Regions from separate parts of the Homo sapiens genome. Here regions 1 and 3 are each linked to region 2. Evidence: promoter capture Hi-C in human tissues and cell types (Jung and others, 2019). All regions are on one chromosome and are shown on one strand. Each heading gives the region's core, a stretch centred on a gene start or on the middle of the fragment in contact. The rest is flanking DNA. Distances are from core to core; before and after follow the strand shown. Region 1 overlaps ZNF407-AS1 (ZNF407 antisense RNA 1). Region 2 holds the start of CNDP1 (carnosine dipeptidase 1). Region 3 overlaps CNDP1 (carnosine dipeptidase 1).

What was found. Contacts are between HindIII fragments. The study calls those that stand out against the background at their distance.
Region 1: a contact is called between a fragment that was not itself captured here and the fragment with the promoter of CNDP1 in region 2, in 1 of the 25 tissues and cell types used here (aorta).
Region 3: a contact is called between a fragment that was not itself captured here and the fragment with the promoter of CNDP1 in region 2, in 1 of the 25 tissues and cell types used here (spleen).

What each region holds. Positions count from the first base shown.
Region 1 is chr18:74,590,537-74,593,236 of GRCh38, forward strand. It overlaps ZNF407-AS1 (ZNF407 antisense RNA 1), which reads right to left. Exons shown (of 2, transcript NR_024484.1): 2 at 1,238-2,700. Among named protein-coding and RNA genes, the nearest start is that of ZNF407-AS1, 5.9 kb to the right of the region's middle. The HindIII fragment of the contact is 5,535 bases long and covers 1-2,700 here.
Region 2 is chr18:74,532,805-74,535,774 of GRCh38, forward strand. CNDP1 (carnosine dipeptidase 1) reads left to right here and starts at 1,696. Exons shown (of 12, transcript NM_032649.6): 1 at 1,696-1,887. The coding sequence starts at 1,864. The HindIII fragment of the contact is 24,351 bases long and covers 1-2,970 here.
Region 3 is chr18:74,567,813-74,570,573 of GRCh38, forward strand. The region is part of intron 6 of CNDP1 (carnosine dipeptidase 1); the gene reads left to right. Among named protein-coding and RNA genes, the nearest start is that of ZNF407-AS1, 29 kb to the right of the region's middle. The HindIII fragment of the contact is 3,145 bases long and covers 1-2,761 here.

The DNA of each region.
Region 1 (2,700 bases), core at 66-2,565, 57 kb after region 2:
CAAAGTGCTGGAATTACAGGCTTGAGCTACCATGCCTGGCAAGTATAATTTCTTAACAGTTATGATAAGTAAACGCTTTGGAGCTATTTTAGTTTGGATAGAATTGAAAAAAATGTCATTATGTGGACAAATTTTATTTAAAAACATTATTCTAGTGTAATTCCTTAGGCAGAATGAAAAAAGATGTCAGATAAATTATGCCTTTGACTATAACAGAAAATCTGAAGCTTTAAATCATCTCACCTCCCACACTGAAATTCACCAAAACAGCATTCGAGAAGAACTTAGATTTAAAATTCTAGTGTGGGTGGTTAAGTGTTCATAGCATATTCTTATTGCCATTGTAAGTAGGCATTTGAATGGAATGACAAAAAATGTTAATTTAAAGGAAATGAAACTTTAAATGACACTTAGTCATCAAAAATGACTAGTCACCAAAAATGACCAATGCTTCCTTCAAATTTTAAATAATTATAACCAAATAAAGGAAGCCATCTATAGTTTATTTAAAATCCCACTTTCAACCCCAGAAGGCAGAGTTCAGGGATACTTTAGCAGGTGAAGTAAAGTAAGGGGAGGCGGCTCTGAAAAGGAGAGATAACAGAGAAAAAGCAACAAATTCAGCATGTCTCCTGTAACATTTTTAGCTTCAGATGGGTGAGAAATGTAGTGAAAGGGAAACTTGAAATTAGTTAGCCTAAAGCAGAACTCCTGAGGAAGAGGATCACTTGGGAATGAGAGTATATACCATAAGCTATCATTCACTGCTCTTGGCCTTGGAAGAAAAGATTCTGGTTTACATTCTTGGCTGAAGAGGCAACATAATATAGCACAGTGGTTCCCAAACTTTCCTCCACATTGTAAGTACCTGGGGACTTTAAAAAGTACTGATGCCAGGGTTCCTCTTCCCCTGCCCGATTTTCTAATTTACTTGCTATGGGGTATCACCTGGGAATTTTTTTTAAGTTCCTGAGGTGATTCTAATGTTCAGCAAACTCAGAAAGCACTGGTGTAGAGGTGAAAGTGTGTTGAATGGACTCTGGTTCAAATTTGGACTCCAGATTTTACCAGTTGGATAATCTTGGGCAAAATACGTTATTTCTCAGATCCTTGGTTTCCTTAGCTGTAAAGTAGGAATGGGAACATCTTTATTGCAGAGTCGTTGGCAGCACAATGACAATATATGCAGAACACTTAGCACAGTGCCTAGCACGCAGTAGACACTCAATACATGGTGTTACTTATTTTTGTTATTTTAATTTTCTATTTTTCCATTTATAAATAGATAAATATTCCACAAACAATTTCTTAAAGAGGAATAATTAGAAATCAACTTATGTGTGCTGCTGGGGTGTGTATAATGCAGCTACAAGTTGGGATCCTCTTTGTTCTGAAGTTGAAGTCTCTTGCTAGAAGTGTCCAGGTACAGGAAGACAGTAGCAGTGAGGACCCAGGTCACCACACGTTCTTGGTATTATTACCTCTCAAATCTCAACAGAGAATGACAGATGTCATATTGTCCTTGCACTTTTTTTTACTTCATTGATTGAATGTATTAAATTAGGTCATCACATTCATAAAGATGAAATCAATCATATTTGTTGAGATAACTAAACTATTGGCTTCATACCCTGGATCCATTTCTCCTTTTCCTTCCTAATTCTTACTTTATTCATGTTTCCATCCCTTTCCCACTCAGCCAAGTGCCACAGGTAGAGCTGACACCTTCCCAAGATCCAGGTGGTCTCTGAGGCCTACAGGCGATTCCATTCCTGTCTGCAGTGCTTAGCTCAGGGTACACATGTGAGCCACTTCTGGCCATGGGATGTGAAGGCATGCTTGCTGGGGGCTTTTGGGAAATTCCTTTTCTCTTAAGAAAAAAATCATAAGAAAAGGAGTTCTCTTTTTTATCTCTAGATGTTATCCCTGGAATCACTCTAGCCATCTTACTACAGCCTGATGTTCAATAGGGCATTGAGAATTGAAGTGCAGAGTGATGAGAAAAATCTAGGTCCTTGATACCAACATTCAACTCCTGAGTCAATAAATTCTGAAGCCTCCTTTATGTCTGGATGACAAATTTGTGAGCTGATACACTTTTTTATTGATTAAAGTAGTGGAGGTTCATTTCTATTATCTGCAGCTAAAAGCCTCCTGGTATAAGTGCTTTGTGTTATCCTTCCAATTATTCTACATTTCACCATCACTTTCAAAGCAGTAATATTATACATTTCTAATTTGCATAACTTACTAGTTTTCAATTTTTTTACCCTAGTTAACACAAAGTCCTTGAAGTGAATATCATCTTTATTTTATTTTAGTAATAAGAAACTGGGGCTCAGAAAGTTTAGGTAACACAGTAGGAAATGATGAAACTGAAACAAGCAATCATGTCTATTTGATTGCTTTTTTCCTGTAAAGACAGTCATTAATGCTCTTCACCAAATGTTTTCATTTCTTCTGACACATGCCAAGATCGCACTTCCCCATCCTTTTGAAGTTACTTGCAGCCATGATAATTGCCCTGGCCCAATGCAATGTGAACAGGTAAAAGACATATTTTACTTCTGGGCCAAAGCTTCAAGAACCAGTGCATATTTTGTTGTCTTCTCTCTCTCTAATGCAGGTAACAGAAGTCCCATGAGCCTGGGTCCCACAAAGAGACATGGAGTGTAGCATCCAGCAATGTCGTTATAAACT
Region 2 (2,970 bases), core at 446-2,945:
GTGCAGAGACGCAGCTGGTGGAGACGCTGCCCCTCTGCAAGGGAGAGGGGCCCGGCCCTGATAGCCACAGCTAGCCTTAACTAGCAGGGATAATGAGTTCCAACTCTGCCTTTCCAGAGATTTCTTTGTTGGTAAAAATTATTTGATTATTTGTCCTTTCATTCAGCAAACAGTTAGAGTAAGTCTCCAGTGTGCCAATCCCTGCAAGAGTTATTCAGAGAGAAATGATGCAAAAGAATCCCAGTCCCCCAGAAAAGCCCCGGGACCCCTCAACCCAAGGCTCTGGCCTGTGCCCTGCTGCCTCCTTTTCTCTACTGTCCCCTGACCTTCCCACCAAAATTTATATGTTGACATCCTAACCCCCAAGACCTCAGAATGTGACCTTCTATGGAGATAGGGTCATTGCAGATTGAATTACTTATCTTTAGATAAGGTCACATGGGCATAGGATGGACCCCTGATTACACACAACTGTGTCCTTATGAGAAGGGACAATCTGGACACACACACATACACAGGGAGAACATCATAAGAAGATGAGGGCAGAGATCGGGTGATGCTTGTACAAGACAAGGGACACCAAGGACGGCCAGCAGCCACGCGGGTCAAGGCCTGGAGCACGCCCTTCCCGCTCAGCCTCAGGAGAAACCTGCCCTGCCCATACCTTCATCTCAGACTTCCAGTCTCCAGAATTGAGACCGATTTCTGTTGCTTAAGCCACCCAGTGTAGGGTACTTTTGTTAGAGCAGATGTTGGGGCTCAGAAGCCAATACCCCAAAATATGGTGCTTTGTTCAAGCTGAACTGAAAAGGAACTTCAAGGCCTCTCGGCTCCCCCACCCCCACCATCTCTCCCAGAGTTCCTGAAGTGTCCTTATCTCCTTCAAGTCTGACCCACCAAAGAAGAAAGGAATGACCTCTAGTCCCTTCCCTGAGTTTTCGTTAACTGAACCCATATCTCAGGAAGGAAGGCTGACACCGAACACGCTGGACAGACTTGTCAAGACCATTGTCTGCTCCGGGGCCCAGCAGACTTGAACGAAGACCGTGGCGTGCTCTTCAAGCCCACTGAATCCTCCCTCGTGAGCGCTGATTGCCCTCAGCTGAAGTCCTCTTTTCTCCTCCCATAACCTGTTGCGCGAGAATCTAAGCCGCCACTCCTTGTGGAACCTCAAGAGGGTGTCTCAGCTTCCCAACCCCATTAGGGATTGGTCCTTCCTTCTGAAGGCTCCCATGTCACTTAAAACTAGGAGCAAATCAATCTGTTATGCCTCTTCTCCAATTCAACTGCCCTTTGCAAGCTGATTTTGCAGCGAACCTTCAGAGAGCTGGGAAAACTCTACCCTCGGCCCCTGCACAGCCCTAGGAAGCTAATCCTCGGCCGTAACATTCCATCACAAGGGCCCACAGCCACAGTGTGTGGGGGCCTGTCATGTGAGGGGGCTGTCACCTGAGGGGGCTGTGCCGCTGGCTCAGCTCTGCCTGCTGGCCGGGGCCCTACTCCCTCTCAGAGATGACACACAAGTGCCCCCAAAGAAGAACCCGAGGAGTCGCAGGCTGGGCCAGGCTGCTGGCTTCCAGTGACATCACATGACTTTGGGGCCACTGCCTCATCCCGTATCTGCGCGTATGAGATGCATTGTCTCTTCCTCTGCAGTTGAGCTGAATGAATACCTCCGAAGCCGCTTTGTTCTCCAGATGTGAATAGCTCCACTATACCAGCCTCGTCTTCCTTCCGGGGGACAACGTGGGTCAGGGCACAGAGAGATATTTAATGTCACCCTCTTGGGGCTTTCATGGGACTCCCTCTGCCACATTTTTTGGAGGTTGGGAAAGTTGCTAGAGGCTTCAGAACTCCAGCCTAATGGATCCCAAACTCGGGAGAATGGTGAGTAGGACCTCCTCCATCAGAGTCCGTGCATTGGGTGCCAGAATTCCATTTGTCCCGGGAGCATGTGCGTTAAGCCCAGTTGGGCAGGGCAGGCACCCAGCGTGGCCCCAGATGCTGCTCCTCATGGTGTTCTTAGGTGCTGTCTTGGCCGAGGAATGTGGTATTTGGAATTATATTTTATCAGTAATGCTTTTGGGTAGTTGTGTGTTCTTAACAATAATTAAATGGCATTATTGTCAAGTAGTTCATATTCAAATTGTTCATGAACTCAGTCTTCTTAAATCAATTTTTTTCTGTACTTTTTCTCTTTAAAAAAAATGAGTTTGCTTCCTGGAAGAATTTGCCTAAATAATGGTAACAGACAGTGTGCTGTTTGTCCTGGTCCCAGGTTCCCGACTTAAGGGCTAGTTTGCAAGAGCTAATCACCGGGCTAAATCACCCCAGGCCTTTCTCGGCGAGGTTTCCATGGTTCAGGTGCAAACCTGAGTGTGGGTGTGGCGGGAAGGCTTCTCTCTAGGAAAACAAGCAGGCAGGTACCTTTGGCTGTGAGGTTTTGTGGGGTTGTGTTCCAGACTACTTGGAAAGATAAAATTCATGGACGCTTTTTATTTCCATTGCAAACACACACATACACACACAGAAATTTTCAGAATTTTGTGGAAGGTTGATACGTAGAAGACTCTCAAAAGACATACTGAAACAAATACATGCAAATGCGAGGCTGGAGACACAGTGAGCAGGCAGGTGGTGACCTGACCACAGCCGGATTCTAGAAGTGGGCTTTGCCCACCTGCAAGACCATGAGATTCCCACACCATGCTGCAAAATCACTGCTCTGAGAGAAAGAACCTCACCCTGTGGTCTGGCCATGCTTTCCATTGCTGACTTTTTTTTTTTTTTAAAGAACCCATGACTGGCCAGGGCATTGGGGTGGGGGTTAGAAGAGGACATTTCACTGAATACTGTCTTACTTTAAAAAATCTTTAAACTGTGTCATGATAGTATCTATTCAAAACATTAAAGTTAAAAGCAACATGAAAGAAAATAATTTCCCTGGCTGGGCATGGTGGCTTATGTCTG
Region 3 (2,761 bases), core at 124-2,623, 35 kb after region 2:
CCTGCTGGCCACAGTGGCAGGAGACCCCAGTGCCGTGGTCACAGGGAAAGAGAAGGAACATTGGTGTCGCCCGAGGCCAGCATCTGAATCCTAGCTTCTACCATGCCCAGCCTTGTGCAGGTGGTTTCACCTTGAGCCTTGGTTTCCCACCTTGAAAGATGGTACAATAACGCCCCCTCCCAGGATGACTGTGTCATTACATGCAGCCTTTAGTTGAGGTTTGACGCATAATCAGTTTCCTTCCCCTTTTCTCTTTTTCTAGTAATACAGGCAATCTGTGATAGTGCATAAGACATAGAAAGTCCCTCCCGGGTAAATAGCTAATTATTTCATCATTTCAATCTGTTTTCTCATATAACAACGTGTAGGCTGATAATCCATGCTGTATCCAATCCCTAGGCAGTTTTGAGATTCAGATGTCAGCACATACACGGAAACACACATGGCTATGCGTGTGAAAAACAGTGAGTGCCTTCTATTTGTCAGATAGGAGGATGCTAAGTCCCAGGGGTATAGGACTGAATAAAATAGTCTCTGCCCTCAGGAAGTTTACTTCTAGTGAGACACAGATACTAAAGAGATGTGGGAGTGACAGAGAAAATAGGAAGCAGGGACTGTCCTCTAGAACCCGCTTTCAAGAAACATGGCTGTGAAAAGTGGGAGACAGCTGGGATGATGGCTAGAGGAAGCCCTTGGGAGGCAATAGACAGAGGGAGCAGTTGGAGACCTGGGAGGGAGGGGGAGAATTTTTGAGAACGAAGGCACTGAGGAGGTGGGAGGGGGCGAGCTCCAGACCCAGGGGAAGAAAATAACCTCTTCTGTGAGGGCTTTGGGTAGGTAGAGAGCTCCAAGTCCTAGAGCTTTTTCCCTCTTAGCGTCCATTTTTTTCTGTTTAGTAGGAAGTGAGTGTATCTGCAGAGAAGTGATGGCTTGAAGTGGTCACTTTGGGACAGGGGGAAGAGAAGGGATGGGAGGATGAAGAAGGGCCAGGCAGTGGTAAGGTCTGGAGTCATCTGTCCATGCAAATTGCTGGCTTTCTGCAGCATGCTCAGTGGCCAGGGACAGAGAAGGCTGGCCCAGGGGTTGAGGTTACCCCAGAGGGTTGTGGTGGAGAAAGTAGGGAAGAGCTCATCAAGGTGTTGAGCACAGAGGGGCTGAGGTGATCAACGGTGGTATTCAGGTTGAACAGGGGAAAAAACAAAGGCAGGAGGGCAATGTGGGACATCTTGGAAGGGTCAAGGGACTGACGTCTTAATGAAGACCGAGAACAGGTGGTACAGCAACGTTACAAGAGAGGACAAGGGGAGCTGTCATCAGAATGTGAGACAGCCAGCTCAAGCTTTCGAAGTGAGACCGTCCACACTCCAGAGTAATTTAGCTAGCATTATTGCCTAGTGAACGGAAAGTCTTAATGCTAAAGTGACCATACCGAAGATTGCTCTGGTGCCACATTGAAGATGAAGAGGAACAGAGAAAGACCAGCTGGGCAGGAAGGATGGGAGGGAATGAACTGAAGAATCAACTTCAAAAAAGCCCAACCTGTAGAAATTGGTAATTGATTGGATATGGCGTATATAGGAGAAATCATGCTGGTAGGAAGTAATTGCAGAAGAGATTGAGTTTGGGTCTAGATCTCCTGAGTTTTGGAAACTGGAAGCATGCTCAAGTGGAAGGCACCGTAAGCATTCCAGAGTTTTAGGTCTGGTGTTTAAGTAGAAGGTCAGACCTCCAGGGATGAACATTGAAGGGCATGGTTGTATTAATAGCATCTCTGCCCTTAAATTAGCGTGAGCACCGCATGGTCAGAGATAACCAGGTCCACACATGTTTGTGTCATTCCACAATGTCAGGCTTTTACTGATGCTATCTCAATAATAAAAGCCATGGGCTCCATGGAGTTCCCAAGGAGGCAATTCTCCTTAGTGCCTCCCATTCATTCAGAAGTCAGAGCGCAGGCACACAGGCTCAAGCTACTCCACAAGGCAGTCAGTATTGTAAAGCATACATTGTGGTATACCTAGCCAATATGTGAATGTTATAGACTGAACATTCCACAACAAACAAAGTAACATTTACCATCAAGAGAGAAGGAGCTGGGCACAGTGGCTCATGCCTGTAATCCTAGCACTTTGCGAGGCTGAGGCGGGTGGATCACCTGAAGTCAGGAGTTCAAGACCAGCCTGCCCAACATGGTGAAACCCTGTCTTTATGAAGAAAATACAAAAAAAAAAAAAAAAAAAGCTGGGCATGGTGGCGTGCACCTGTAGTCCCAGCTACTTGGGAGGCTGAGGCAGAAGAATTGCTTGAAGCTGGGAGGCGGAGATTGCAGTGAGCTGAGATCATGTCACTGCACTCCTGCCTGGGTGACAGAGCAAGACTCTGTCTCAAAATAATAATAATAATAATTAATAATAATAATAATAAATAATTAAAAAAAAAGAAAAGAAAAGTGATAGGAAAACAGGTTAATGAACCAGTCCAGGGAGAGTGACGTAGACAAAAAGAAATCCTGGCTTGGCCCGGGTGGTCCAGTGGTCTTGTAAGGAAGAGACTTTGATCTGGGCAGAGCCTTTGGTGGCAGATGCTGGGCGCTTAGCACAAGTGACAGCAGGACAGTGTCTGTTAAGTTTTGAGCTGCTGACATCCTGGTCGTTTTATGACTGCCAAGTCCTCTGATAAGAACTGATAGTGGAAGAATGTGTTTGGCTATGTCCTTATCCAGCTGGAAGCAGTCTTTATTGATCAGGCAGAACATCTAGTC